6 separate regions of the Homo sapiens genome follow, and all the other regions are linked to region 5. The links are contacts of gene promoters, found by promoter capture Hi-C in blood cells and fetal thymus (Javierre and others, 2016). All regions are on one chromosome and are shown on one strand. Each heading gives the region's core, a stretch centred on a gene start or on the middle of the fragment in contact. The rest is flanking DNA. Distances are from core to core; before and after follow the strand shown. Region 1 overlaps POLR2B (RNA polymerase II subunit B). Region 2 overlaps POLR2B (RNA polymerase II subunit B). Region 3 has its middle 18 kb from the start of NOA1. Region 4 overlaps EXOC1 (exocyst complex component 1). Region 5 holds the start of PPAT (phosphoribosyl pyrophosphate amidotransferase). Region 6 has its middle 4.9 kb from the start of EXOC1.

What was found. The method cuts DNA at HindIII sites, captures the fragments that hold promoters and counts their contacts. A CHiCAGO score of 5 or more calls a contact.
Region 1: a contact is called between a fragment that was not itself captured here and the fragment with the promoter of PPAT in region 5, in 5 of 17 cell types (naive CD4 T cells, naive CD8 T cells, fetal thymus and 2 more). The highest score is 7.5, in naive CD4 T cells.
Region 2: a fragment that was not itself captured here is called in contact with the fragment with the promoter of PPAT in region 5 in 2 of 17 cell types (non-activated CD4 T cells and total B cells); the score reaches 6.8 in non-activated CD4 T cells.
Region 3: a fragment that was not itself captured here is called in contact with the fragment with the promoter of PPAT in region 5 in 6 of 17 cell types (total CD4 T cells, total B cells, monocytes and 3 more); the score reaches 7.2 in total CD4 T cells.
Region 4: a fragment that was not itself captured here is called in contact with the fragment with the promoter of PPAT in region 5 in 1 of 17 cell types (neutrophils); the score reaches 6.7 in neutrophils.
Region 6: a fragment that was not itself captured here is called in contact with the fragment with the promoter of PPAT in region 5 in 1 of 17 cell types (non-activated CD4 T cells); the score reaches 5.3 in non-activated CD4 T cells.

Annotation. Positions count from the first base shown.
Region 1 is chr4:57,005,046-57,008,457 of GRCh38, forward strand. POLR2B (RNA polymerase II subunit B) reads left to right here. Exons shown (of 25, transcript NM_000938.3): 8 at 201-397; 9 at 555-674; 10 at 1,771-1,957. Among named protein-coding and RNA genes, the nearest start is that of POLR2B, 28 kb to the left of the region's middle. The HindIII fragment of the contact is 2,486 bases long and covers 221-2,706 here.
Region 2 is chr4:56,984,025-56,987,441 of GRCh38, forward strand. It overlaps POLR2B (RNA polymerase II subunit B), which reads left to right. Exons shown (of 25, transcript NM_000938.3): 2 at 2,330-2,402. Among named protein-coding and RNA genes, the nearest start is that of POLR2B, 6.8 kb to the left of the region's middle. The HindIII fragment of the contact is 5,960 bases long and covers 1-3,417 here.
Region 3 is chr4:56,957,667-56,961,243 of GRCh38, forward strand. No RefSeq gene overlaps it. Among named protein-coding and RNA genes, the nearest start is that of NOA1, 18 kb to the right of the region's middle. The HindIII fragment of the contact is 9,798 bases long and covers 1-3,577 here.
Region 4 is chr4:55,868,868-55,872,101 of GRCh38, forward strand. EXOC1 (exocyst complex component 1) reads left to right here. Exons shown (of 19, transcript NM_001024924.2): 6 at 1,811-2,038; 7 at 2,234-2,366; 8 at 2,982-3,091. Among named protein-coding and RNA genes, the nearest start is that of EXOC1, 17 kb to the left of the region's middle. The HindIII fragment of the contact is 5,306 bases long and covers 1-3,234 here.
Region 5 is chr4:56,434,107-56,437,769 of GRCh38, forward strand. It overlaps PPAT (phosphoribosyl pyrophosphate amidotransferase), which reads right to left and starts at 1,509. Exons shown (of 11, transcript NM_002703.5): 1 at 1,244-1,509. The coding sequence starts at 1,371. PAICS (phosphoribosylaminoimidazole carboxylase and phosphoribosylaminoimidazolesuccinocarboxamide synthase) reads left to right here and starts at 2,154. Exons shown (of 9, transcript NM_001079524.2): 1 at 2,154-2,222. The coding sequence starts at 2,207. RefSeq lists enhancers at 1,214-1,393, 2,241-3,124 and silencers at 1,484-1,683, 1,824-2,113. The HindIII fragment of the contact is 7,763 bases long and covers 782-3,663 here.
Region 6 is chr4:55,847,056-55,850,388 of GRCh38, forward strand. No RefSeq gene overlaps it. Among named protein-coding and RNA genes, the nearest start is that of EXOC1, 4.9 kb to the right of the region's middle. The HindIII fragment of the contact is 6,305 bases long and covers 1-3,333 here.

The DNA.
Region 1 (3,412 bases), core at 214-2,713, 570 kb after region 5:
TGATGAGTGGTTTTTGTCAGAGATCGCTAGATCTCTGAGGTATCTTCTAAGAGTTTGTGATTCCTTGATTTTCTAAAAATACTCACATATTTTATTATGTTCATAGGGGTACTTGGCATGTTATAAACTAAGTGACAGTTTACTCATTTTAAGGTAGCAACATGAATTTGAAAATAACTTTTATTTAAATTGTCTGATAGGTTAAACCTTCTCTCGATGAAGCTTTTGTCATCCAAGAACAGAATGTTGCACTAAATTTCATTGGTTCAAGAGGAGCAAAGCCTGGTGTTACTAAAGAGAAAAGAATTAAATATGCAAAGGAAGTTTTACAAAAAGAAATGCTCCCTCATGTTGGTGTCAGTGATTTTTGTGAGACCAAAAAAGCCTATTTCTTGGGGTATGTTAAGTTTCATTGTTTTAAGTTCTTTATCAAGATACAGTTGAGATAAAGGTTTTTCTTAGAGTCAAAAATGATGTTTTTAACATATAAATCAAAAAAAAGTCCAAAACTAAGTGTTTTCCCTCTTTCTTTCTTTCTTTTTTTTTTTTTAAAGATACATGGTTCATAGGTTACTTCTGGCAGCTTTGGGTAGAAGAGAACTAGATGACAGAGATCACTATGGAAACAAGAGATTGGATCTTGCTGGGCCGCTGCTTGCATTCTTATTTAGAGGGTAAGGAATTACAGAATGAAGTCATTAAAGCAGGGAGATTTATTTCACTTTAGATTGATCATTGCATATGGCCAGGCTAAACTGTGTTGGCATCCACGTTGGGTACTTATGAAATTAGCTACATTCTTATTGCTATTTGCTCAGATTTAGTTTTGGTTCATGTCTAGGAAAGCCAGGTTTATGAGGACAATATATTACGTGTTTATATATTTTCTTTATTCCTCTGGTAGCTTTGTAAGATGTTTGAGAAAGCTGAATTATTGCCTTGGTTTTCCTAAGGGCTAATATTGGATTTTGTCCTGCTTTGTACACATATATACAAAAGCTGGAGATAAATATATAAAAATACTGTCAGTGATTGTCTCACAGTATTGGTATTATGTGCAGTTTTTAATTTTATTCTTGATGTTTGTATATTTCCCATATTTTCTATAATTGGAAAAAAGTTATTTTTAAAAATGAAATATGTAGACAGTACAAAAAGGATAACATTAGCATTGTCTTGCACGTGTTTTGTTATTTAGTATGTTATAGATTAGTGTTTTTCAACCTTTTTTTGATATTGCCCCACTAAGGAGCCTCTTTTAACATTTTTGTTTATTGAGATGGAATTTCACTCTTGTTGCCCAGGCTGGAGTGCAATGGTGCCATCTCGGCTCACTGCAACCTCTGCCTCCAGGGTTCAAGCGGTTCTCCTATCTCAGCCTCCCAAGTAGCTGGGACTACAGGCGTGTGCCATCACACCCAGCTAATTTTTCTGTTTTTAGTAGAGACGGTGTTTCTCCATATTGGCCAGGCTGGTCTCAAACTCCTGACCTCAGGTGATCTGCCCACATCAGCTTCCCAAAGTGCTGGGATTACAGATGTGAGCCACCATGCCCCACCTCTTTGACATTTTTGTGTAGTTGCTCCCCTGCCATGTATGTTCACGTACTATACATATATCTGTGCTTTAGACATAAAAGAGCAACAACTTTCACTCTGCCCAAACAATTTTTGCTCACCTTCCCCACGCTTTTTTTTGCAATATTCCTCCTGTTGAGAATATATGTTGTAGACCTCTACATGTTTAAAATAATACCATTTTATTCGGCAGTATGTTTAAGAATTTGCTTAAAGAAGTGCGGATCTATGCACAGAAATTTATTGATCGAGGAAAGGATTTTAACTTGGAGTTGGCAATTAAAACACGGATCATATCTGATGGCCTAAAATACTCTTTAGCTACTGGAAACTGGGGTGATCAAAAGAAAGCTCATCAAGCCAGAGCTGGAGTATCTCAGGTAAGTGTGCCAACTATGACTACAGGCTCAATAGGAAACATGTTTATAGGACTAGTAGATTCTTTTGTTTGTTGAATATAAATTATTTTGCTTTTCTTTCTTGGTCAAAGGTAAAACTACTGGGTGCCGGGTGTGGTGGCTCACACCTGTAATCCCAGCACTTTGGGAGGCCGAGGTGGGCTGGATCACCTGAGGTCAGGAGTTTGAGACCAACCTGGCCAACATGGCGAAACCCCATCTCTATTAAAGATACAAAAATTAGCTGGGCATGGTGGTGGGTGTCTGTAATCCCAGCTACTCTACTTGGGAGGCTGAGGCAGGAGAATCGCTTGTACCTGGGAGGTGGAGGTTGCAGTGAGCTGAGATCATGCCACTGCACTCCAGCCTGGGCAAAAAGAGTGAGACTCCGTCTCAAAAAACAAAAAAAAAAACTTACTGGGGACTTTTGAATTATGAACATGAAATTTTCTTAAATTAGCTATTAGTATTACTAAGATAGATTTTTGGCTTGCAGTTTAGAAACTCAAAGTAATTAAAAAATTAGAGTAGCTGCTTAGTGGGTGAGACAGTCCATGTTAGTGAAATTTTTATGTCTTAAAAGCTCCACATTAGAAGCCAACTAAGAGATAAAAATGGTCATCGCCCTCCTTTGTTGGAAAATACAGTACTTCTGACACTGGTTTCTATATGTTGGTCTGTTGCATATATAATGACTGCAGTAGCTATTCTCAGATGGAGTAATGGAGAAAAGCTTTTTAAAGAGTGTATCACTGGGCATTTTAATTTTTTGTATTTGCTTTTCATAGATGATTGAAAACCTGTAATGTACTTTATGCCATTTTTAGGGGGATCTCCCCCTCCTTTCCTTGTTTAAACTGGCCTATACCAGTATCACCTGATTGATTTGGCATTCGGACACCAATTTCAAGCTCCTTTTTCCTAGAAATCTGGATGCTGTAAGAAATTTTGAGGGGCTACTGATAGCAAAGTTAATATTTAAATTCCTTGTAATTCAGTAAGGATTTATTGGGTATATTTGATATTTGTGATACTGAGTTCACACACATGAATGAGATGCTGATCTCAGCCCTCAGGGAGCTCATCAGCATCTAGCAGAGGAAACAGATTCATTCATGTGTAGCTCACTATGCCCTGTGCTGTGTTATGACAAATGCCACATTGCAAATTCAGTTCAAGGAATTGGTTTTTTTTTTTTTTTTGAGACAGAGTCTTGCTGTCTTGCCCAGGCTGGAGTACAGTGGCAATCTCCGCTCACTGCAAGCTCTGCCTTCTGGGTTTACACCATTCTCCTGCCTCAGCCTCCCGAGTAGCTGGGACTACAGGCGCCCGCCACCACGCCTGGCTAATTTTTTGTATTTTTAGTAGAGACGGGGTTTTGCCGTGTTAGCCAGGATGGTCTCGATCTCCTGACATCGTGATCTGCCCGCCTCGGCC
Region 2 (3,417 bases), core at 55-2,554, 550 kb after region 5:
TGGCTAATTTTTGTATTTTTAGTAGAGATGGGTTTTCTCCATGTTGGCCAGGCTGGTCTCGAACTCCTGGTCTCAAGTGATCTGCCTGCCTCGGCCTCCTAAAGTGTTGGGATTATAGGTGTGAGCCAGTGCGCCCAGCCTGAAAAAAAATCTGATAAATGGATGAGTAAATGAGTCTCCTTCATGAGTTCATTTTCCTTTGTATGACTTTTAAAGTTGTTCCCAGATATCCTGCCTTCAGCCTTCCTTGTCTGTGTATAATCTCATTTTTCTCCCACCCATTTGTTAATGATTCCAACTATGTACTTTTTTTTTTTCAAATTTTAAAACGTTTATTTTATTGACACATAATAGATACACATTTGTTATATGCCAATGTATATCTATTATGTGTCACATGTTCTTTGTCTATAATGTAGACTCTTCATTTGAGTTTATATTCATATATGTGTGCCTACTAGAAGTATTTGAAGGTATTGTGATCTATAGATATCTCTAAAGCCGATCTCATCATTACCTCTCCTTTTTCCACCATCTTACTTGCTTCTCCTGTATGGCAGTGATGTTAACTTTTAATCTCTCATCAAAGCTAGAAATGTCTGAGCTATTATACATAGCTTTGTCTTTCTTACCCTTCCCTCAGGTGTAGGGATTAATAATTCCAGTCCATTTAAGAAGTATTTATTAAAAATTTATTTTGTATATGTATCAAATTTTGAACCCAGATCTCCTGAATTTCATAGGCTATATATGTGTACATTAGAATAAAAGCCAAAAATACAGCACACTTATTCTTTCCCTTAAGAAGATGGGACTAATATTAGAGGACCAGTGCACACTGATTTTTTTTTGAATGCATATTTAAATTACTGTTGCATAACTACGCTAAAATTTAGCTACTTAAAAAATTATTTTGTTATGTTCATGGATACTGTGGGTTAGGATTTTGGACAGGGCATAGCAGGCATGACTTGCCTGTGTTCCACCGTGACTCTGGTTCATTTGGGAAGACATTAAGGCCAAGTGTTGACAGCTGGGTGAGAGATGATCTGTAGTATTGACTATGTCTGACATGAGACATTAGCTTAGGAGGACTCAAGGACTAAAATTGCTAATGGAGCATCTGTAAGTGGCCTCTACTTATGGTTCGGGCTTTCTCAGTATGTAGCAGCCTCAGAATAGTGTATGTCTTTACAAAAAAAATTTTATTTTATTTTTTTAAATTTTTGAGACAGAGTCTCGCTCTGTGGCCCAGGCTGGAGTGCAGTGGCGCGATCTCAGCTCCTGCGAGGAGGCGGACCGCCCATTCCGTGCCCGGTAGCCGCGAGGGACCGGTGGTAGCCGCGAGGGACGGGCGGCGGGCTCGGTGCTGTGGCGAGGCGGGGATGGCACTCCCCCCCGCCGCCCCGTGGGGCGGCCCCGACTTTCGGGCGGTGAGTGAGAGGCGGGCCCTGCAACCTCTGTCTCCTGGGTTCAAGCAATTCTCTTGCCTCAGCCTCCTGAGTAGCTGGGATTACAGGCATGTGCCACCCTGCCTGGCTAATTTTTGTCTTTTTTAGTAGAGACAGGGTTTTGCCATATTGGCCTGGCTGGTCTCGAACTCCTGACCTCAGGTGATCCACCGACCTTGGCCTCCCAAAGTGCTAGGATTACAGGCCTGAGCCACCCCTACTTTTTAATGACAGCTCAGGGCTCCAGAAGGAAGTGTTTTAGCAAACATGACAGAAACTTCATTGCCTTTTCTGACCTGGCTTCTGAAGTCATGCAGCATTGCTTCAGCTGCATTCTCTTAAGTTACAGGAGAGTCAAAATCTACCCGATTCAAGGAGAGGGTGCATAGACCACTATATGTGATGATAGGAGTGTCAAGATCACATTATAGAAGACCATGTCGGATGGGAGATAGGCTTGTGGCCATCTTTGGAAAATGCAAACTTTCATACCTGTACATGTATGAAATGTTGCTATAATAGATTGCCCCACCTTAGGGTATTGCCCAGTTGTTGGAATCCTTCCATGGCTCTGCCCCCTTACCCTGTTCTCTGACTCTAGTGTCTGAAAATCTTGCTGATCAATAAAATGGAAAACTTAACATTCATACAACTTACATTGAACCTTTCTAATAAACCTCTTTTTATATTGGAAGAATACCTGTGTGACATAGACATAAATTATTTTATTAATGTAATTGAAATTTTAGAAAAGTGGGGTGAAAGCATTACTTATTCAGCAGAAAGTAAATATGTTTCTGCTACTTAAAGTCATAGGAGCAAGATGTTAACTAAGTGGCATCTCATTGCAAATGAGTACAATATTTTTGTTTTTACAGATATGCAATATGATGAGGATGATGATGAAATCACCCCGGATTTGTGGCAAGAAGCATGCTGGATTGTAATCAGGTAACTTTGGACCAAACTGAATTAGCCTGAAAAGGCACTTTAGATTTCCTGCTTATTCTTCTTGATAAATAGCTCTTCTATATAAATATGCTACATGAGAGTAGTTATTTTATTTATATATTTAACATTTTAAGTATTTCAGATCTAAAAGTTACACAAAGAATTCATTTAATCATTTTAACCAGATTCCGAAAATGTTACCCTGTACTACATTTCTTTGTCTTTTTCTCTTTTTGTATATATATATTTTTTTCTGAAACATGTGAGAGTAACTTGCAGATCATTTGACCCTGGGAGGTTGAGGTTACAGTGAGCGAAGGTCGCACCGCTGCACTCCAGTCTTGGTGATAGAGTGAGACCCTGTTTCCAAAAAAAAAAAAGAATAACTGCAGACATAAGAACATTCTTTTACATAATCACAATTATGGTGATCTTATTTAATCTATAGACCTTACCCACATTTTGCCAGTTGTCCCACTGGTGTTTATAGCAAAATACAAATTTTTCTGATCCTGGATCCAACCTAGGATCACATATTGCATTTACTTGTCATGGCATGTTCTTTTGTTTCCTTTAATCTGGAACAGTTCCTCAGTGTGTCTGTTCTTTTTTTTACCTTGACATTTTTGAAGAATACGGGCCAGTTACTTTTTAGGATGCCTTTCCGTTTAGGTTTGTCTGATATTTCTCATAATTAGATTCAGATGATTACTTTTGGCAGAAGTGACATAGTCTCAGTGCATCATATCAGGAGGCATGTTTGTTTCATTACTAGTAATGTTAATTTGATTGCTTGGTTTTCTCATTATTTTAAATGGACAAAGTTAAAATTGGTTGTATTTCATTCCAAATTCCCATCCAATTCTAAGTGTAACTAAATGTAATAAAATTACGAGAAGCCTTGTATAGGTAAGAAAAGTAACTTATAAGTGATAAAGTAACATCCTGTAAGGTTAGGATGTTAAAGGCTTATAACTCTTCTCTCTCTTCTCTCATCCCCTGACACCTGTTTTAT
Region 3 (3,577 bases), core at 903-3,402, 520 kb after region 5:
GTGTGGTGGCTCACACCTGTAATCCCAGCACTTTGGGAGGCTGAGGTGGGAGGATTGGTGAAGCTAGGAGTTTGAGACCAGCCTGGGCAACAAAGTGAGACCCTGTCTCTACAAAAATAAAAAATTTAGCTGGGTGTGGTGGCACCTGCCTATAGTTCCAGCTACTCGGGTGGCTGAGGCGGGAGTATCACTTGAGCCCAGGAGGTCAAGGCTGCGTTGAGCTGTGATTACACCACTACACTCCAGCCTGGGCAGCCGAGTGAGACCCTGTCTCTGAAAAAATAAAACAACAACAACAAAACAAAAAACAAAAAAACCTATCTTGAACCATTCCCCTCTCACGACAAGGTCTTAATGGGGGCAGATAATATGACAGAGAGACATTCAGAGCAGGCAGAGGTGTCATCGATTTGATTCACGAGTCTGAAATCTTGTTTTTAATGTTTAAGCATTACTCTTTGACAATTGAGAGAAAACAATCCCCCTGGGAGGAGGAAAGTGGCCAAAAGAAAATGGAACAGCTGAGAAAGAATGGAAATGATTCTAATGCTCCACGACACAGAGCCAAGTGGGAGGGAAGCCAGGGTAAATGATCCGAGCCCGTCTATGAAACAGCCCGCCTCAGCTTGCGCGCTGGGTGCTTACTCAGTGAAGCAATAACAACTCTGTCATGGCTGACACAGCTGGAGCTCCTCCATGTTAGTCAGCTGCAGGAAACCAGCCTATGTCCATTGTGCAAGAAGAGTCTGAACACTAGAGACACAGGCACACAAGATTGCATCTCTACTCCGCTTCTCCTTGGTTGTTATGGGAAGTGAGTGTCTCAAGTTAAATAAACTAGACTCTGGGGAACTATACAGTAAAGACTTAGTGATCGGCACAGCTTGGCATTTATGGTGATTAAAGATACAAAACATATTACAACTTTAATTTGTCTTAGTAACTTTGAAGAAGATGTTGTTATTTTAGTTTAATTAGAGGGGGGAAAAGCAGAGGGATTACGTGTAACTTTTTAAAATAAAACTTTGAACCTAATATCACATAAAAGTCAAAAAGTACTTTGATGGAATTTATTTTACTTCTTTTGGGTGTCATGAATACAAAAGAGGTGACATGCTCAACACCACAGTGCTGCAGAGCCAGGTAAACAATCTAGAATAAACTTGCTTCATTGTTTTCTAGCAACCCCTAACCACCTCTGTGATCTGTGGAAGTGAGGAGTTGGTACTTTGCCCTTAATTTCTCCTCCCGTTCCTGGCCAGAAGAGCCCACTAATTCTTGTACCCTGTCATAGTGTAAGTGACTACTGATTCAAAAGATGTCGTTATATTCAGATTAATGGATAAAGAAGTACAGTCATGTATCGCATAATGACTTCTTGGTCAGCAATGGGCCACATATACAGCCGTAGTCTGGTAAAATTATAATGGAGTCAGAAAATACCTATTGCCTAATGATTTGTGTTACAATTGCCTACAGAATTCAGTACAGCAACATGTTGTACAGGTTTGTAGCCTAGGAGCCATAGGCTATACCATACAGCCTAGGTGTAGAGTAGGCTATACCATCTAGGTTTGTGTAAATACACTTTATGATGTTTGTCCAAAGATGAAATTGCCTAACGATGCATTTCTTAGAACACATCCCTGTTGCTAAGCAATGCACTACTGCACCAATACAGTAATGGAACTTTCTTAAAGGAAAATCTACTAGGAAACACTTGATCCTAGCAGTGATCCTAGGCTGCATTAAATTGGAGGCACAATATGGAATAAATTAATACCAGATCCCAGTAGAAGTCCTCAACTAATTCTAGGCATAGAGCATCTTTCTCACTCTTTTTGCTGGCTTTCTTTCCTGCTTTTTTTTTTTTTGAGATGGAGTCTTGCTCTGTCACCCAGGCTGGAGTGCAGTGGTGCAATCATGGCTTACTGCAGCCTCAACCTCCCAGGCTCAAGGGATCTTCCCACCTCAGCCTCCTGAATAGCTGAGACTACAGGTGGGTGTCACCATGCCCAGCTAAATTAAATTTTTTTTTTTGTAGAGACAGGGTCTTAACTATGTTGCCAGGGCTGGTCTTGAATGCCTGGCTTCAAGGGATCCTCCTGCCTTGGCCTCCCAAAGTGTTTGGATTATGGGTGTGAGCCCTGTTTTCTGAAATACATTTTCTTAAGTTGTCAGGGTGATAGTAGTCAGTTTTTAGATTGTTTCTCCACAAAGGCCCAGTTCACCCTTTGCTGGCTTTCTTTCCTGCCTGTTTTTTGTTTTAATTCTACCTAAATATCCTGGCCTAAGCTCTGAACTGTGAACTCCTGTTTTCAACCATAGGTAGAAATATAATGACCATAATTTTTTTTTTTTTTTTTGAGATGGAGTTTTGCTCTTGTGCCCAGGCTGGAGTGCAATGGCACGGTCTTAGCTCATCGCAACCTCTGCCTCCCGGGTTCAAGCGATTCTCCTGCCTCAGCCTCCCAAGTAGCTGGGATTACAGGCATGTGCCACCACACCTGGCTAATTTTGTATTTTTTTTTTAGTAGAGATGGGGTTTCTCCATGTTGGTCAGGCTGCTCTCGAACTCCCGACCTCAGGTGATCCACCCACCTTGGCCTCCCAAAGTGTTGGATTACAGGTGTGAGCCACCGCACCCAGACACAATTTTAACTTATAAAATAAATGGTATTTCATTCCCTCCAAAATAAAAACTAGAAATCAACTGCCAATCAATTTTCTCCATTTGGGAAGCTGCCGCCCTCTAGAGGTAATATGATGTTGGGGGCACTTTCCAGTTGTCACCAGGACTGACAGCAGAGGGAGTTGCTACTGCATTTAGTGTCTGGGATGAGAGATACCAGACATAATGAAATGCAGTTTTTTTGTTTTTTTTTGAGACGGAGTCTTGCTCTGTTGCCCAGGCTGGACTGCAGTGGCGCGATCTTGGCTCACTGCAGCTTCCGCCTACCAGGTTCCAGGGATTTTCCTGCCCCAGTCTCCGGAGTAGCTGGGACTACAGGCACGCGCCAGCGCAGTCAGCTAATTTTTGTATTTTTAGTAGAGACGGGGTTTCACCTTGTTGGCCAGGATGGTCTCAATCTCCTGATCTCATGATCCGCCCGCCTCGGTCTTCCAAAGTGCTGGGATTACAGGCGTGAGCCACCGCGCCCGGCTGAAATGCAGTTTTATATATAAAGAAAGAACCACCTTGCCCAAGATACCAGTAGTACTCACTTTGAAACACTATGAAAGGTCTACAACAAGTTGCATCATCTTAAAAAATTCTCCATTATATTTAATCTAAGAGGACTTAGAAGAGGACTGAGGAGTGGGGAGAAGACAGGAGAGTGTGAAATACATGGGGGCTCCCATATGTTGGGACAGAACATGGTCCTCTCAGGAATTTCATGGCTCTAACTGCGTTTCAGCCTAGCTTATCTTACCAGCATTTATTTCAACATTAGGATCTGGGACTTGACTTGCCAATTCTTCATGACACAGCTGTGGTACTACTTACTCAGCTAGGAATAACAAAAGGTGTAGACTTTTTCTTTTTTCCTTTTTTCAGACAGGGTCTCGCTCTGTT
Region 4 (3,234 bases), core at 62-2,561, 570 kb before region 5:
GTATGTGTGTGGTTTGAAAAAAATAAAAATAGGGATGAAGTATAAAGAGAGAAATGTGGCTGAAATATGTGAATCATTTACCAAAGAAGAGTGGAGTGAGTGTGGTGAAAACAGGAGAGCCAGAGAAAAAGATCTGTGACTTCTTTGCTAAAATGTTTTAGAATAGACCTTTTTGTTTTGTGTGCAGTTTTTGAGTGTAATTCAAATGCACAGCACCTGCTGGGGCAGTGGCTTACACCTGTAATCTCAACACTTTCGGAGACTGAGGCGAGCAGATCACCTGAGGTCAGGAATTCGAGACGAGCCTGGCCAACATGGCAAAACCACATCTCTACTAAAAAAAAAAAAATTAGCCAGACATGGTGGCATGCTCCTGTGGTCCCAGCTACTTGGGAGGCTGAGGCACAAGAATCGCTTGAACCTGGAAGACAGAGGTTGCCGTGAACTGAGATCGTGCCACTGCACTCCAGCTTGGGTGACAGAGTGACACTCTGTCTCAAAACAAAACAGAACAAAACAAAAAAATCAAACACACCGCATCTCTTATGCTAGAGTAATCTAAAATCATTTGGGTTTGTTCTGGTTTTAAGAAAAGGTAAGCATTTAAGAAATCCCTCAGAGGATAAGGAACATTTTAAAGACTTAAATTTTAGTGTTGTATACATGAAAGGTACAGAAGTTATGGGGTCTGACTCAGGCCCAGAGAGATTATATGAATAGTCCAGGCTTACAAGTTTACAGAGTTCACTGAAAGCAAAGCCTAGAAATGATTTTAAGATGTTAAGGAAGAAATCCTGGGCAGATTCAAACCCCAGCTCTGTTACTTAAGAGATGTCAGTGGCTTCTGAACCCTTCTGACTCTTAAAGTCGTATTGCACTTACATTTTATTTACTGTGGATAGTATGTAAATAACGTGTGAAACCACAGCGTCAGCTGTACAATGATATCCTTTAAATTTCTGGTCCAGGTTTTTCATCGTACCATGTTACTTGCCTTCTTAATATGGCTTAGTGATTTATATTTTTTGTTCTAATTAATATGGTATATATGTTCCAAGTCAGCATATTGCTTTGCAGTTTAATTTTGGATTTGGCAGTTTCCTTATTTCAGGGAATTCAGAATCAATAGTCAGAATCATTTAGAAAATAGTGATAAGGGGATGGTGGTTTGTTACTGCTTTGCCTGGGGAAGAAAAAAAAAACAGTTGAAAGAGAAAAGAAAAAAGATGATAGAAGGAGCTATCGGCCGTATGCTCTTCTACATCCTGTTACTAGTTCCCATCATACTACAGTTATAAATTAGTTTCATATATCCTTCAGAGTCTGGTATACCACTGCTGCTTTCTCAACTAAGATATCACATAGGTGATTATGCTTTTATTTAGGGTTTCACATAGGTGTTAAGAAAATTTCTAGCTGGTAGAATTGGAGGAAATGTTAGAGATAACATGGCCTAATGCCTCCTAAATGTATAGAAATGAGAATGTGCCATTACCAGTGATACTTTCTGGCACCTTACTTGTGCATTCTGGAACCTTACTTGTGCAGTCTGTGGAAATATAAAATCCTAAGGCATGGTCCCTAACATTGATTTAGAGGCAAGTGTACCTGCATGAAATACTGTGTAAAACATGGAAGAACATAAAGTGATAAACTGAAGTAGATGTGTAGGTATATATCAATTTTTGTTATGCTACTTTCAAGGAAATTTAGCAACATTTCACCTTTATTCTTTTACACATCTAAATAACAAGTATGTTTTTTGTTTGTTTGTTTGTTTGTTTGTTTGTTTTGGTCTTTAACTTTGTAGGCTAACATCCAGTCAATCATGGCATCTGAAAAACAAGTCAACATCCTGATGAAATTGCTAGATGAGGCTCTAAAGGAGGTAGATCAGATTGAATTGAAACTGAGCAGTTATGAGGAAATGCTCCAAAGTGTAAAAGAACAAATGGATCAGATCTCTGAAAGCAACCACCTAATTCATCTTAGTAACACTAATAATGTAAAACTCCTATCTGAGATAGAGTTCCTTGTGGTAAGTATGATCATAAATTACCAACAAAAAAAAACTAGTGATGATATATAAAACCCATTTGTAAACATTTTTTAATTTCCTTGTGAGAACAGGATTTAAAATAATTCCAAAGACCTAATGATAGGACTGAATAGCATCTTGCCTGTAAATTTCCCAAAATTACACATGCAAATGGTGTGTTTGCATATATTCTAGAACCACATGGACTTGGCCAAAGGTCATATAAAGGCCCTTCAGGAAGGAGATCTTGCTTCTTCCAGAGGCATTGAGGCCTGCACCAATGCTGCTGATGCCCTTCTGCAGTGCATGAATGTAGCTCTTCGACCAGGTATGTTCATTAGAAATGACAAAAATGTGACCAAGAATGTGAGACTAAGCCTGTAACTTGTTATAAAGGTTTTGACAAGAAATACATGAGACAAGTGGTTTAAGGGTTACATTATTAGCTATTCAAGTTTCACTGATTTCCCAACTTATTTCTATTGATACTAGGAACTTTTTTACTTCAGTTCCTCCTTCTAATTGTCCTCAATGACTATAGTCAACACCATGATCTTTATTTAGTACTATCCACAGAACCCAGCAGAAAGTAGGTGCTTTGGTTAGACGAGAGCAATTATTTCAAAACTTGAGTGTCCGTCAGAATCCCTAGAGGTCTTGTTAAAAACATAGATTGCCTGGCCCCAGTCCCAGATTCAGCAGATCTGGGCTGAGATTTTAGAATCCACATTTCTAACAGTTCCCAGGCGATGGTGAGGCAAGACCACACTTTGAGAACTACTGTGAAATCCCATTTTTCTCCTGCTTAACTTTTATCATGTAAATGAATACACCCATAAAACTTTTGGGTTCTTCAAAACGTTAGATACGTTTAATGTTCCATTAAACATCAAGGAAATCTTTTTACCCATTAAACTGGTCACAAAATGTCGTTCTGTGTCAGGCCATGACTTGCTTCTGGCAGTCAAACAGCAACAGCAGCGATTCAGTGATTTGCGAGAGCTTTTTGCCCGGAGACTGGCCAGTCACCTCAACAATGTTTTTGTTCAACAGGTAATTTTATTTTATTATTAAAACGAGCATGTTCCTATAGCTTATTTATGTATTAACCTTACATTTCCACAAAAATGTTAATATGTTTAATTGGGGTTGCAGTCAATTCCTTCACATATTTGATTTTAAGATTTTGAAATAGG
Region 5 (3,663 bases), core at 259-2,758:
AGAAATCTATTATGGTCAACCCACAATTATCCAAGATTGGAGCTACGCAAGTTAAAAATATTCTTTTTGATGCTTCCCACATTCTCAGCTCTTTAGTAAACAAGGAACACACAAAATGTGAAACTGAAATTGAAGTACCTGGGACAATGAAAACAGCAAAAAATACTTCTAATTTAAGTTTGGTGGAGGAAAAGCTAATCTTTTGGAATGCGTTTATACGTGTTGCACCCATTTTGCTGTTACGTGTTATTGCCAAGTTCCTTAACTGTAGTGTAAGTTGTTACCACTGTATTGCCTTATGGAAACTGTAATACTTTCAGTAAGAATATCAAACCCAGGTTTGTTTTTCTTATCCTAGTGTAATAATTTATATCAACTTCCAGTTAAGTCAGGTAGTAAGAAAAGGAAAGATCACCGAAGCAAAGTAATTTTTTTTAACTCGAAAGGATCTCCCAATTTTTCAAAATCAAGTGTATGGATCTTGGCATAGAGACACTACTCCCCTGTCCCCCTTTTGAAGAAGGGAGTTAATTTTTGTCATGTTATTACCAACGTTTTCATTCATTAGGCAAGACGTCTACCAATGAATCTTTTCCAGATGCACTGTTCCCTATGGTTGGCTTATTTCCATTTAATTTATGTGAGATCTACTACCAGTAGTCATTCTCAACATCAACTAGTCATCTTTCCCTGGGTCTGAAGTCTAGCATCCTCAAGTTCCCATAGCGATAACTACTTTCAAACCCATAATCTGCTCAATAGCTCTGCCCTTGCAAACAAAAGCTTGTGGTGGTTGGAGGCCCCGCGCGAAAACCTTTAGGTGTTGAAGGACCTGGACTGGCCGCCACGCCACACTAGCCTATTACAGGAGCAGCCACAGGCTCCGGGAGACTAGAACCCGCCTGCAGTCGGGGAGGAGCCCTGACCCAGCTAGACCAAGCAAACCGGCGGTTTACAAGCTGGCCAGCCTCTGGATGGGTGCACACACCGGGGGGCGGGGAGGGAGAGAGCCCCTAAAAGGCATAAGTGGCTGGGAGGGTGGGCAGGACAGGCTAAAGTTCATGGAAGCGAGGTGCCCCTCGTGCACGCCTAGGCAACCCGGTCGACGCCACAGGCAGGTACTGGCTTAGGTCGGAGAGGTCGGTCCTCCCGGGCCCTCGGGCGCTCATGAGAACGCCGACTGCGGGAAGCGGCTCCGAGAGATGGAGACGCACGCCCCCGCCACCCCCACCCTGTTGCTCACCGGTGCTGCAGCCCCACGAGTCCCAGAGTGATCACATGCGGTACATCCAGCTGCGTGGGCCACTCTCCTGAGGCGATGCACCCGAACACGCCACATTCCTCTCGGATCCCCAACTCCTCCAGCTCCATGTCGCCGCCGAAAGCACGTGGAAGGACCTGCCGCTGCGGCCAAGGTGTAAGCACCAACCAGCTGCCAGCTCGGCCCGTCGAGCTCAGAAGCTCGCGCTCGCGACAGGCTCTTCCTTCCCGAGGGTGGCCCCAGCTACTGCGGCGGCGCGCGCTGTCCCTAGGTGGCGTGGCCAGCTCAGCCCTGCTCCTCCCCCTCCGAGTCCACCAACGAGCGAGGGCGGAGGGGCGGTCCCGCGGCTGAGGGGCGGGGTCACGGATGCTGTAGGGTGGAGCTAGCCTTCCCCTAAGAGCTGCCTGGAAAGCTGTATTTGCTGCACGTGGAAATCTCCGTTATTTTCCAGCACCCAACAGTAGCGTAATGGGAGTAACGGACTTAACCTCATTTCTCTTTCAGAGCATTTAGCCTTCATATGCCCTTCCCTGCATGCTTCCCCCAGGCCGTCAAGACTTGGTACGCTCCAACTTCTGAGTCGCTCCCGCAGCCGAGAAGGGGCCGGGGTATGCGAGCTTCCGCAGAGTGGGGAGGGGCCGCCAGTGCGCGCCACTTTTCGCCTGTCCGGGCACTGCGCCAGCGCGGGGCGGCCCGGAGGCGGGGTCGCGTCTCTGCGCCTGCGCGGCGGGAAGCCAGTGGGGCGTTGTTTCGTCCGATATCCGCGTTTCAGTCTCCGCCCATACCCCTCCGGGTTAGGCGGCTGTAGCGGAGCTCGAAAAGAGTGGCGCAGGGTCGCGCGGCCCCGCCTCCTTCCCCGCCCAGCGAAGCTCTCTGACCACCCCTCTTTTCTAGAGTTCTGCCTCGCTTCCCGGCGCGGTCGCAGCCCTCAGCCCACTTAGGATAATGGCGACAGCTGAGGGTGAGTAACAGGGATCCGGGCCCTTCACGGTCTCCCTGACCCCCAGGCCGTGAGCTCGCGGCCACGTGCGAGCCGCGAAACTCTGTCCCGCCTCCCTGCAGCAGCGCCTCTAGGCAGCCGCGCGGGCGCACACGTGGCCCAGGCGCTCCCGGGCCTCCCCGAACTTTACTGCCTCGGGGATGGGGAGAAGGAGCAAAGTAGAGGAGAACGAGAAATGGCCAAGGGGTGGAAAGGTGCCTGGAAGTATTATTTATAATCAATAGCTATTGCAAAATACAAGCAAATCAGTCTTGATTCGTCAAAACCTGAGTCTTGCTTTGCCCGTTAGGTTAATGACCTTTCTAAGAAGGTTAATAATTGAAACTTTTGAAAGACCTGTCTAGAGGCCGGGCCTGGTGGCTCACGCCTGTAATCCCAGCACTTTGGGAGGCCAAGGCGGGCGGATCACCTGAGGTCAGTAGTACGAGACCAGCCTGGCCAACATGGCGAAACCCCGTCTCTTACTAAAAATACAAAAAATTAGCTGGACGTGGTGGCGCGCGCCTGTAATCCCCAGCTACTCAGGAGGCTGAGGTAGGAGAATCGCTTGAACCCGGAGGCGGAGGTTGCAGTGAGCCGAGATCGCGCCATTGCACTCCAGCCTGGGCGACAAAGCGAGACTCCGTCTCAAAAAAGAAAAAGAAAAACCTGTCTAGGGGGCGTGTGTGTAAGTAGTCTTTGATGCCATGGTGTGTGTGTGTGTGTGCACGCGCGCGTGAAGTAGTCTTTGATGCCACGATAGCTTGGGGTGTGTGTACGTGCGTGTGCGTGTTTAAGTAGTCTTTGATGTCATGGGTGTGTATGTGTGTGCGCGCGCGTGTTGAAGTAGTCTGATTCCATGATGGCTGGGGAGGGGGGCTGTTTTTAGGTAGTCTTTGATGCCATGATGGTGTGTGTGTGTGTGTGTGTGTGTGTGTGTGTGTGTGTGTGTTCGTTCCAGTAGTCTTTGATGCCACGATGGCTTTGAAGAACTCCAAAACCTTTAGGCAAAAAAGTTGCACTATCAGGAAAGATTGTTCTTGCTATTTATGCTGGAAAAAAACAAATGCTGGTTTTTTCCACACACCCAGTTGCTATATGTATAGTGAGGCAAATTGCTTTTGTGGCTGCTGGGTACATTCTTTTCCACATAGAAAGTAACTGAATTCAGATTTTAAAAAGCTGTAGACTCAGGCCGGGCGCTGTGGCTCACGCCTGTAATCCCCAGCACTTTGGGAGTCCCAGGCGGGCGGATCACGAGGTCAGGAGATCGAGATCATCCTGACCAACATGGTGAAACCCCGGCTCTACTAAAAATGCAAAAATTTGCTGGACGTGGTGGCGTATGCCTGTAATCCTAGCTACTCGGGAACCTGAGGCAGGAGAATCACTTGAACCGGGGAGTCAGAGGCTGCAGTGAGCC
Region 6 (3,333 bases), core at 368-2,867, 590 kb before region 5:
CAAAAAGTGGGCGAAGGACATGAACAGACACCTCTCAAAAGAAGACATTTATGCAGCCAAAAAACACATGAAAAAATGCTCACCATCACTGGCCATCAGAGAAATGCAAATCAAAACCACAATGAGATACCATCTCACACCAGTTAGAATGGCAATCATTAAAAAGTCAGGAAACAACAGGTGCTGGAGAGGATGTGGAGAAATAGGAACACTTTTACACTGTTGGTGGGACTGTAAACTAGTTCAACCATTGTGGAAGTCAGTGTGGCGATTCCTCAGGGATCTAGAACTAGAAATACCATTTGACCCAGCCATCCCATTACTGGGTATATACCCAAAGGACTATAAATCATGCTGCTATAAAGACACATGCACACGTATGTTTATTGCGGCACTATTCCCAATAGCAAAGACTTGGAACCAACCCAAATGTCCAACAATGATAGACTGGATTAAGAAAATGTGGCACATATACACCATGGAATACTATGCAGCCATACAAAATGATGAGTTCATGTCCTTTGTAGGGACATGGATGAAATTGGAAATCATCATTCTGAGTAAACTATCTCAAGGACAAAAAACCAAACACCGCATGTTCTCACTCATAGATGGGAATTGAACAATGAGAACACATGGACACAGGAAGGGGAACATCACACTCTGGGGACTGTTGTGGGGTGGGGGGAGGGGGGAGGGAGAGCATTAGGAGATATACCTAAAGTTAAATGACTAGTTAGTGGGTGCAGCACACCAGCATGGCACATGTATACATATGTAACTAACCTGCACAATGTGCACATGTACCCTAAAACTTAAAGTATAATAATAATAAAAAATAAAAAAATTAAAAAAAAAGAGATGATTTCTGCACTTCTGAGAGAATCTCCTAGAATGTGTATACGGAGTTCAGCACTGTGCATTTGTAATGACTGCCCTTTATTGTAATATCACTCTACAATATGTATATTAAATAAGGCAGCTGCATAAGAAAAGCATTGAGACGCAATGTGATTCTGCAAGCCAATCTTTGCCTTCCTTATATTTATTTGTATGTCACATTATATTACTTTCCAATAATGATGTCAAATGTGCATCTACTATCTAACTAATATTTATTTATAATATTTACTTAATTAATATTGATACAGGTAATTACCATCCTTATTTAGTGACTCCCTGACTTCCTCCCATAAAGCTACAAAGAAATGGAAAGTATCACGTGGGGATATTTACATCTATTTCTAACAAAACCTAAAACAAACACCAATTGCTTTATGTATTTAACAGTAGAGACATTTCTTCCTTGCTGCAGTTGTTAAAGATATTTAGAAAATAAAGAATCTGGGCCTAGGTGGGCAGATCACTTGAGCCCAGGAGTTTGAGACCAGCCTGGGCAACATGGCAAAACCCCATCTCTACTAAACCCCATCTCTACTAAAAATACAAAAGATCACCCAGGCATGGTGGCATGTGCTTGTAGTCCCAGCTACTTAGGAGGTTGAGGCAGAAGAATCGCTTGAACCTGGGAGGCAGAGGTTGCAGTGAGCTAACGCCATTGCACTCCAGCCTGGGTGACAGAGCAAGACTGTCTCCAGAAAAAACAGAACGAAAAAGAAAATAAAGAATCTGGGAAGTGCAGCATTGTAACTCTCATTGTCCACCCCCCACCCCCACAAAGAGTTACTTGGTGTTCTTTGTGTTGATACTAATAGTCTTACATCTCTGAAAAAAAGTTCTTCCTTTCTTAGACAGGAACATGCATCATTAAATTATAAGAAAACAATGCTAAGAAATAGGGAAGAGAAAAATCAAAGTAAGTGTCATAATAAATGTCAAATGTTTAAAATGTCACATTTCAAATTGAAATTATATAAATCTACATGATTTTAAACATTTGAACATTTTAAACATTTGAAGATCCCTTAGCTTTATACCCAAATTAAAATTAATCAGACTGATATCAAAAGACAGTTTGGATGCCAGTAAAAGAGGCATCCAAATATGAAATATGAAAGTCCACTTCCATGAAATCTATGAGTTTTCTCACTAAACAATGTCCTCAAAGCCAGTGGAGCTACCACCGATGTCATCAGAGACAGCCCTAGAGGGAGTGGGGCACTTTTGCCCTTCCTCCTTCAGGGGTTCAAGCTGAGGAAAAGGATGGTCTCCCTCCCCCTTCAAAAGGTGCAAAATGGATTCAGGTCTTGAGAAGAACATGAAGTCTTTACAATCTTCAGGCCTCTGCTTTACTGGTGCACAGTAACAAGAGCGATTTCTCTGAGGAAACAATTAACTTCTATAAATCATCAATATTTACTACTCTTCACCATTTAGAAGAGACTTTTCCCTTGGAGCTTACTAACAATGGAAAAGTTATTTCATGCTATGTAAGTATGAGATTCCCTCATATGTGATACATGTTAATATATACAGCCTTCTTTCTATGTAAAGGAAGCGGGACCTCAGAACCTCCTTGGGCAGAACCTCCTTGGGTGACTATTACATGTTTTTCAAGTAGGTAAATCTGCCCAATTTAATCTACTAAACCAATCTGCATGTAATAACAGCTACCATTTATTGAATGCTTATACTGTGTGCCAAGCAATGAGACAAGTGCTTTACAAGAAACATCTTAGCAAATATGCCCAAGATGGGATTACTATTTTTTATATACAGATGAGAAAATTGAGGCTCTGAAGAGTTAAGTAACTTGCCCTGTGGTCACTGACTCAGTAAAGGGTAAAGACCAGATTTGAACCCCTGGTCTGTGTGATTCCGAAACAGGAAAATTCCCTTATCCCCATCGCAGGGCATGCGATGGGGGTGTCACTCACTTCTTCAGTGCCCCACTGCTCAAACCTCTAGGGGGAGCATGCAGAAGGGCAGGTTGTGGGGCTCGGACTCCACGGCAGCGTATAGGGGTGAACGTTTACAGCTCCTGAAGCCCTGCTCAGCGTTTGTTACAGGGTGCTCTTTTAGTTTAGTCATCCGGATGGCTTGTGTTAGCTAGCTCAATTAGACCTCCTGCCTAATTGCAAGGAGAGGGCTTTCTGTGTCCTGAGGTTTCTTGCCTTGGTGTAACCGGAAGAATCGGATCCCACGTGAGGGCTTGGAGAATGAGTGCAAGATTTTATTGAGTGGAAGTAGCTCTCAGCAGATGGAGAAGCCAGAAGGCAGATGGAGTGGGAAGGTGGTTTTTCCCTGGAGTCGGGCTGCTCAGCAGCCCAGATCTCCCCTGACCACCTGGGGCTAAAATCTGCATCATTCTGCCGGTGGATGGCCTGCCTGTTGATGGCCTGCCTGCATCTGTTGTGTGCTCTTCCCCTGGCA